2 separate regions of the Homo sapiens genome follow, and region 2 is linked to region 1. The links are contacts of gene promoters, found by promoter capture Hi-C in human tissues and cell types (Jung and others, 2019). All regions are on one chromosome and are shown on one strand. The core of a region is centred on a gene start or on the middle of the fragment in contact, and the rest is flanking DNA. Distances in the headings are between cores, read along the strand shown. Region 1 holds the start of C17orf107 (chromosome 17 open reading frame 107). Region 2 overlaps ANKFY1 (ankyrin repeat and FYVE domain containing 1).

What was found. The method cuts DNA at HindIII sites, captures the fragments that hold promoters and counts their contacts. A contact is called where the count stands out against the background at its distance.
Region 2: a fragment that was not itself captured here is called in contact with the fragment with the promoter of C17orf107 in region 1 in 3 of the 25 tissues and cell types used here (dorsolateral prefrontal cortex, lymphoblastoid cells and spleen).

Annotation. Positions count from the first base shown.
Region 1 is chr17:4,898,286-4,900,785 of GRCh38, forward strand. It overlaps C17orf107 (chromosome 17 open reading frame 107), which reads left to right and starts at 1,251. Exons shown (of 3, transcript NM_001145536.2): 1 at 1,251-1,543; 2 at 1,651-1,860; 3 at 1,952-2,500. The coding sequence starts at 1,478. The coding sequence ends at 2,248. It overlaps CHRNE (cholinergic receptor nicotinic epsilon subunit), which reads right to left. Exons shown (of 12, transcript NM_000080.4): 9 at 1,183-1,297; 10 at 913-1,099; 11 at 716-822; 12 at 1-606. The coding sequence ends at 451. RefSeq lists silencers at 848-997, 1,018-1,127 and an enhancer at 1,328-1,637. The HindIII fragment of the contact is 33,281 bases long and covers 1-2,500 here.
Region 2 is chr17:4,227,706-4,233,830 of GRCh38, forward strand. The region is part of intron 3 of ANKFY1 (ankyrin repeat and FYVE domain containing 1); the gene reads right to left. Among named protein-coding and RNA genes, the nearest start is that of ANKFY1, 33 kb to the right of the region's middle. The HindIII fragment of the contact is 6,569 bases long and covers 1-5,636 here.

The DNA of each region.
Region 1 (2,500 bases), core at 1-2,500:
TGTTTGGTTCCCACCCGCTCCAGCAGAGCCAGACCAGGGAAGAAGAGGGTTTCCTGGCTACAGCCTCCCTGTGTGCAAGTCCTGCAAAGGGGTCTCCTGTTTGGCTATGAAATGAATATAGATAGATAGCTCACAAGCTGGCAGCCACCAGAGTCCCGTGGGGCTGAGCCTTAGAAAGGCTGGGAGGTCAGCAAGGCTGAATGAAGGGCAGTCCTTGCTTTCTGGAAGACTGGCACCTGAGAGCCTATGTGAACCCTTTCCTCCTGCTGACCCCTGGACTGCGGCCAGGCCTACACACGCCAGGGAACGGGCACACACCATTCTTGTGAAGTTCACAAACTGCAGATTGATCAGCAGGGGGAAGGGATCATAATGCCGTGGTGGCGGCAGCCTACTTTTTCAAAATCAATTTCCTACTGGAGATGGGTGGGAAATTGAAGTCGGTGCGAGCTAAGGCTGGATACACGGCGCGTAGGGGAGATCAGGCACTCGGTTGAAGTAGGCCCCGAGGAAGATGAGGCTGGAGCCCACGCTGAAGAGCACCAGAGCGGCCCAGAAGCAGATGTTGTCAAGGGCATTCCCCATGCGCACCCAGTCGGACACTTCCTGGGGAAGGGTCGGCACAGTCAGTAAAGAGGCAGCTGCAGGAGCCAGCGGCATGGGAGACAGTGGTGGGCCTCTGCCTCGCTCCACCCGCCTCTGGCTCCTGTCCCACCTCGCCGGTGGCCTCCTGATCTCTCGTGCTCTCGGCCACGAAGTTCACGGCATCCACACAGCAGCGGACCTCGGGGGCGGCGGCGCCCAGGCTCTGGCAGAAGGCAGCTGGCGGGGAAAACACCGGGGTGGGCCTTAGGAGCCTCCCCCCTGGCAGGCACCCCGCGCGGCCCCCCGGGCCAGGGCCACTGTGCTCACCCGTCCAGGTCCCCTGCCGGTGCCTCTGCCCCTCAAACACGAGCTCGCTCCGTGGCTTTTTCAGTATCAGCTCCTCCGCGCGGAGCAATAAGCCCACCGACGACGCCCGCCTTGGGGGCGAGGCGGCCCGGGGGGCCTCGGGCGGCGGCGGGGAGCCCAGGAGGCGCGGCAGCAGCTCCAGGAGAACCTGGGGCAGGGGCGGGGCTTAGGGGACGAGGTTAGTACGAAGCCCCACCCCGACCCGGGCTGCACCGCCCCCTCCGCGCTTACGTGGCGCAGCCGCGGGGACATGGCGTGGGTGGTGGGCGTCCGCTGGGACACGTTGAGCACGATGACGCAATTCATGACAATGAGCGTGGCGACCACCATGACGAAAATAAGGAACCTGAGGAGCCCGGAAGGCATGACATCACCGTTCCTCCTCCCAGCTACCGAAGGCGCCGCGCGCTGACCTCACAAACACGGCTTCTCCTGGTACGGGCTGGTTACGCCCTCCAGCTGCGCCCCCTACACGACGACAGACGCGTCCCCCAGCCCTTCTCCTGTCCTACCACTTGTGGCGGCCATGAAGGGGACCCCCAGCTCCCTGGACACCCTGATGTGGATCTACCACTTCCACAGCTCCACCGAGGTGAGGCTACGCCCGCCAAGGGCTGCACCTCGAGACCTTCTGGGTAGGTCTCCTGTTCGCCCCTGTGACCCCTGCCCTGCTACTCTACTGCTCTGCTCCTTCTCCAGGTGGCCCTCCAGCCCCCGCTTCTGTCTTCCCTGGAACTCTCCGTGGCCGCAGCCCATGAATATCTGGAGCAGAGGTTCAGAGAGCTGAAGTCCCTGGAGCCACCCGAACCGAAGATGCAGGGGATGCTGCCTGCCCCGAAGCCCACCCTGGGGCTGGTGTTGAGAGAAGCCACAGCCAGCCTCGTGAGCTTCGGCACCACCTTGTTAGAGGTGGGGTACTGGGGGGCTTAGGATACGCGGCGATCGGGTAGCGGGAACAAGGACCTCTGCCTCCCCGCTAACCCCTGTGCCCCCAATGCAGATCTCAGCCCTGTGGCTGCAGCAGGAGGCGCGGCGACTAGACGGCAGCGCGGGCCCAGCCCCAGACGGCAGGGATCCGGGTGCAGCGCTGAGCCGGGTAGCCCAAGCCGCAGGGCAGGGGGTTCGGCAAGCTGGGGCTGCGGTGGGCGCCAGCGCCCGGCTCCTAGTCCAGGGAGCATGGCTATGCCTGTGTGGACGGGGTCTGCAGGGGTCTGCCTCATTCCTGCGACAGTCGCAACAGCAGCTAGGCCTCGGAATCCCCGGAGAACCGGTGAGCTCAGGACACGGGGTGAGTTAGGGGCCAGAGGCGGCGGGGCTAGGGAGGCACTGAGCCGGACTGTCCCCCAAGAGAGCTACTCGGGAGACCTCCAGGTGACGTCCAGCAGCAGTGAGGAGGACGGCGGACCAGGGACTCCATCCCCGTACCAGCCCCACCCAGCGTCCGAATAAAGCCCAGGGCGGGGCGAGACAGCCAGAGCTTTTCCCGGGGTCTCTGGGTTTTGGCCACGCCCCCACCCTTCACACTGGCCACACCCCCGCGGGGGCTCCG
Region 2 (6,125 bases), core at 1,102-3,601, 670 kb before region 1:
CCAAAGATGTGAATACTTTATAAGAAAATATAAAATTGTCAATAACACACAAAGAAGGTTCAGCATTATTATCAGGGGAATGCAAAATAAAACTGCCATGCACTCTGTATCCATTAGAATGGCTAAAATTGTAAACAAAAACCAAAACAACCTGCCTATATCAAGCGTTAGTCAGGATGTGAAGCACCTGGAGCTCTCATATCCACGGCTAATGGGAATGTAAAATGGTACATCCATTTTGCAAGACAGTTTGGTAGTTTCTTAACATTAAACAGTCCCTCCTAGATATTTACTCAAGAGATATAAAAACATGTCTACACAAAGGCCTTACACAACTGAATACAGGTAATTTTCTTGCTAATAAAACCCAGAAAGAACACAAATGTCCATCAACAGGTAAATGCAAAAAAAAAGTGTGGTATTTTCATACAATGGAATACTATTCAATAACAAGGAATGAATAATTAAAACACAAAGCAACATACTAAGGTGTGGGGTGAATGTCAAAATCTATATGCTAAAAGAAGTGAAAGAAGCCAGACAAAAGGGACTCTATGCTCTATGATTGCACTTCTATAAAAGCCTAGAAACTGCAAACTAATCTATAATGACTGAAAGCAGATCAGCATTTAGCTGCAGAAGTGGATGGCAAAAGGGATGGATTGCAAAGAGACATGAGGAAAGCTTTAAGGATGGAAATGTTTTTTGTTAGTTTTTTTTTTTTTTCTTGAGACAGAGTCTCACTCTGTCGTCCAGACGGGAGTGCAATGACGCGATCTCGGCTCACTGCAACCTCTGCCTCCCAGGTTCAAGCAATCTCCTACCTCAGCCTCCCAAGTAGCTGAGATTATAGGCATGTGCCACCATGCTCGGCTAATTTTTTGTATTTTTAGTAGAGATGGGGTTTCGCCATGTTAGCTAGGCTGGTCTCAAACTCCTGACCTCAAGTGATCCACCCAACTTGGCCTCCCAAAGTGCTGGAATTACAGGCGTGAGCCACCACACCCAGCAAGGATAGAAATGTTTATGTTGATTGTGGCAGTGGCTTCACAGGTGTATTCGTATGTCAAAACTTATCCAATTGCACACTTTTAATGTGGGCAGTTTACTGTACTTCCATTACACCTCAATTTGGAGGAAAAAGAAACCAAACTGACAGGCAGCACGGCACTGTGGTTAATGGCACGAATTCTGCAGCCAAACTACCTAGGGTTCAAATCCCGGCTCCAATCCTTGCTAACTGTGTGGAGTTAATACATAATAAAGCACTCAAAACACCACCACCACATAGTAACTGCTATGTAAAAACTTGCTATTATTACAATAGACTATTTAGAAATTGATCACAATGAAAACAGTACCTACCAAAATATTTGCAATGTAGTCAGATTCATACTATAAAAAAAAGTCATAGTCTTAACCTTATTAGAAAATGAGGCCAGGCATGGTGGCTCACACCTGTGATCCCAGCACTTTGGGGGGCCGCAGTGGGTGGATCACCTGAGGTCAGGAGTTCAAGACCGGCATGGCCAACGTGGCAAAACCCCATCTCTACTAAAAATACAAAAATTAGCCAGGCGTGGTGGCGGGCACCTGTAATCCCAGCTACTCAGGAGGCTGAAGCAGGAGAATCACTTGAGCCCAGGAGGTGGAGGTTGCAGTGAGCTGAGATCACACCACTGCACTCCAGCCTGGGTGACAGAGTGAGGCTCTGTCTCAAAAAAAAAAAAGAAAATGAGATAAAAGATAGTAATTCAACTCAAAAAGAAAAAATAATTCAAAGGAATTTCAAAGAAAGATTTAATACAGATAAAAAGAAATTATTGAATTGGCTAAATATAAATAAAAATTAAAAGAACAATGAACCTAAACCAAATCTGCAATAAGCCAACACAAACACAAACTTAACATAACCAAAGATTGGTGAGAAAAACCCAAAAGCAGTATGAGGATTAAGTAAAGAATATAACCGCAGATAAAATAGATTATTTTGAGCTCTGAGAGAATCTTTGGGCATGGGACTCAGCTGCTGGCAGGAGGCCACAAGGCTGTTTGAGTGTCCTCATGACATGGCCGCTAACGTTCCCCCAAAATGAGCAATCCAAAAGAGAGAGCTAGGAAGAAGCCACAGTGCCTTCGATGAAGCCATCTCTCAAGTCACATGCTGCCACTTCTACCACACTCCATTCATTAGAGGTGAATCAGCCTATACTGAAGAGGAGAATTTGAATCCACCTTTGCAGGGAGAAATAGCAAAGAATTTGTGAGCATATTCTTTTTTACTCCTTTTTGTGAGCATATTCTAAACTTCCCGTGGATGTCATCGAAGGAACACAGTATGATTTAATACTGAAACTGAACAGCCTTAACCTAGTAGTTCACACAGTAGCCAACAGATGTTGAATATTGCTGTGCTTCTCTTAAAAATTTAAATAGCACACAGCTCCCCGAGTACACAGTTTGGGAAACTATGCCCTTTCCACTGCAGAGTGCAAGCTTTCCAGATGGTGCTTCAGGGGATAGCTTTCCCAACCAGAGTGAAAAGGAATAAAGGAGGATGTTTTCTGCTGTTTGGAATGGCTTGACACTATCCAGGACACATTCCAGGAGAGCTGAATGACTCATACCCTGAGCCCTTATGCCAAGGAACTGTAAGATCTTTGCTTGAGAAAGTATGCAACAAACTCTAGCTTCAAAACAGCCATTCTAATCCATTGGAACCTCTCATCGTGTCAGCTGCTACTGGTAAAGTGCTACAGAGAGGCCATAAACAGATCATTTTGCTAGAAGCAAATTGCTTTACTTCACCAAGAAGTAAATATAATACTTTCCTTGTGGACTCAGATTTGTTATGCTTTGCTGAGCTAACAGTCATATTCTTTCTCTTCCCACTTGGTCAATCAGTATCTTTATAAACTTTTATCTTTTATTCTTTTTTATTAGGGTTTAACAGACAAAAATTATATAGAGTTAATGTATGACATGTTTTGATATATGTATGCACTATGAAATGGTTATAAGCTAATTAACATATCACTTCATATATTTAAAGATACCTTAGTAAGAAATAAAAAAGCAAATTTCTACTTTGTTTACATTTTCAGATACTTTCATACTTTGAGAAAAGCTGCAGAGCATCCCCATATGCCCTTTACTCATCTTCCCCTATTATTAATACAGCTTATATAACCATAGTACAATGATCAAAATTAGGTAACTACGTAATACATACAATACCAATACCATTAACTAATTATAGGCCCTATTTTGCCAATTTTACCAGTAATACCCTTTTTATGGCCAGAATCCAACTGAGGATTCTACACTGCATTCAGTGTTAGTCTCACCCAATCTGTAATACTTCCTAAACCATTCTTGTTTTTCATAACCTTGACATGTTTGAGAAACACTCTGGCTGATTATTTTGAGAAATGTCCCTCAATTTGGGTCTGATGTTTTCTCATGAGTAGATTGAGGTTATGCATTAATGGCAAAAATCCTATACAAGAGCCAGGCAGAGTGGCTCATGCCTGAAATTCCAACACTTTGGGTAGCCAAGGCAGGAGGATCATCTGAGCCCAGGAGTTTGAGACCAGCCTTGGCAACACAGCAAGAGCCCATCTCTATTAAACAATTAGCCAGGGATGGTGGTGAACACCTGTACTCCCAGCTACTTGAGAGGCTGAGGTGGGAGGATCTCTTGAGCCCAGGAGTTCAAGGCTTCAGTGAGCCGCGATAGTGTCACTGCATTCCAGCCTGGGCGACACAGTGAGACCCTATCTCAAAAACAAAAAAAGAATCCTACAGAAGTGATTGTGCCTTCATCAGTGGATCATATCAGGTACAAACATTTCACTTTTTTGAACAAGGTATGATTCATATATCCAAACACCTTTAAAGTGTATATAATGCCTGTTGTATTTCATCAACATATGCTAAAATTCTCATAATCAAGGCTGTGTGCAGTGCCTCACACCTGTAATCCCAACAGGCCTTTGGGAGACCAAGGCAGGAGGATTCCTTGAGTCCAGGAGTTCAAGACCAGCCTGGGCAACATGGCAAAATCTCATGTCTATAAAAAATGAGACAGGCATGGTAGCACACACCTGTGGTCCCAGATACTCAGGAGGCTGAGGTGGGAGGATCACCTGAGGCCAGGAGGTCAAGGCTGCAGTGAGCCGTGATTGCACCATGGCACTCTAGCCTGGGTGACAGAGTGAAATCCTGTTTAAAAAAAAAAAAAAAAGAAAGAAAGAAATATCAATTAGACAAGAACATCAAAAAGAAAAATGTGGAGTTTTTCTTACATTCTAAGATGTAAGTTTATGCAAGCAAGAATTTAATTTTGTACACTTTGTATCCCTAACACCTTGAAAAGCGCTTACCACTCAATGTTTTTTATATGAATGGATTAATGTTGAAAAAACAAAACACCAATAAATTCATTAAATGATTTTATCAAGCCTGTTGGTGTGGAAAACATTTGAGCCTTTAAAATACAGCTTTTATGCTATTTATACACCTGTTTACAAGAACCTATTTCCAATCTTCCTCAAATTGCTGCCATGAAGTGTCAGTGCTTCCAGGTATCACATAACACACAGGCTTCCCAGGCAGTCTCAGCAACTGCAAGCCCAGGTTTAGGCAATGAGCAGGACTGCTGGGCAAAGCACACAATTCAACAGGAACAGGCCCACACATGCCACTACCACCTTGGACCTCTCCCCCATAACACATTTCAAAGATACATTTCATTAAAATGTCATAAAAAGTAAAAATGCCACATGTTCTCCTATCTGCTATCTTCACAGGTGCTTGATCTGTGAAAGCCACAAAAACCATTTACTTTGAAGCGGATCACTCCTGAAAGCAAACCTTATAGTAGAATCAAAACACGCTTATTATTTACAACTGGAGGAGAGTCTAGAGACATTTAAAGACATTAATATTCTATTTTCCTGAACTCGAGAAAACTTCCTGACTCACAGTGATGCAATCTTGTGGCCAGACAGCACTGAATTAAGGCCAGACAGCACTGAATTAAAGCTCTAAACGTTTGGATGTACTAAAAAATTTCAGTGTAAAGCAAAATTTTTTAATTCAATGTTAAAATTGGCTTTTTATTCCTTGATGTAATTTTCTGTGTTGTGTCGTTTTGTTTCAGAGAGCAGCGATGTTTCGTTTTTGCCACTCTCATTCATTTTGGTGGCAGTCGATATTTCACAATTAAAATAAAACTGAGGAACATTAACACTGTCTGAGTGACCTACGACAGTATCCCAGAAGTCAGATAATGAAGAAAAAAAAAAAAGTAGGAATATTTCACAGCTCAGCTGCCTAACTGCTTTCTAGAACTGTCATACCTATTTGTATCGTCACTGGCAAATGTACAAGAATACCACCTTCATGAGCCTCACAGCTACTAGGATCACCAATGTTTGATTATATAGATTTCAAAAGATGGTAGCTTATTCTTAACTTTTTTCTAACAAAGTCGAATATTTTCCATATATTTATTACCTTCTAGTCTTCATAAACATTCTGTTCATATAATCAAGATCCTATCACACATTTTGTGAAGAACACTACATGATCTTATAAGGTCTTCATAATTCTGTTATATATGAGGTCAAAGATACATGGTTTCAAAACACTATGCTTTAAAAAAAAAAAAAGCTATCCCTCGAGATTTCGATCACGTGGACTGGTACCCTCCCAGTAAAAAACTATTTCCCAGGCAAATGTTTTTAGTTACTGGCATGCAGGCATCTGCACATGTGTAGGTGTGTATGTGCATTTGTATCTACAACTTTTAGTTATGGACCTCAAGTTAAATCCTAGAAATTATCATAAAGAGACAGAGTTCGCTCACAGTTGGGAAACACTGATATATGTTCCCCTTAATCCATGAGATAAATGCCTACTTAGCCTTTACAACACTACTCAGGTATTAGCCACCTCTGAAACCTTCCTTTATCACCCCAACTTAGTCTGTTCTCAACCTTATATATAAGCTAACTACATTTCTGTATTTACAGCCCTGGTCTGAAATGATTTGTGAATGGCCTGTTTCCTCCAGCAGAGTACGGGCTCCGTATGGCAGGGACTGTGTTATAATCATCTCA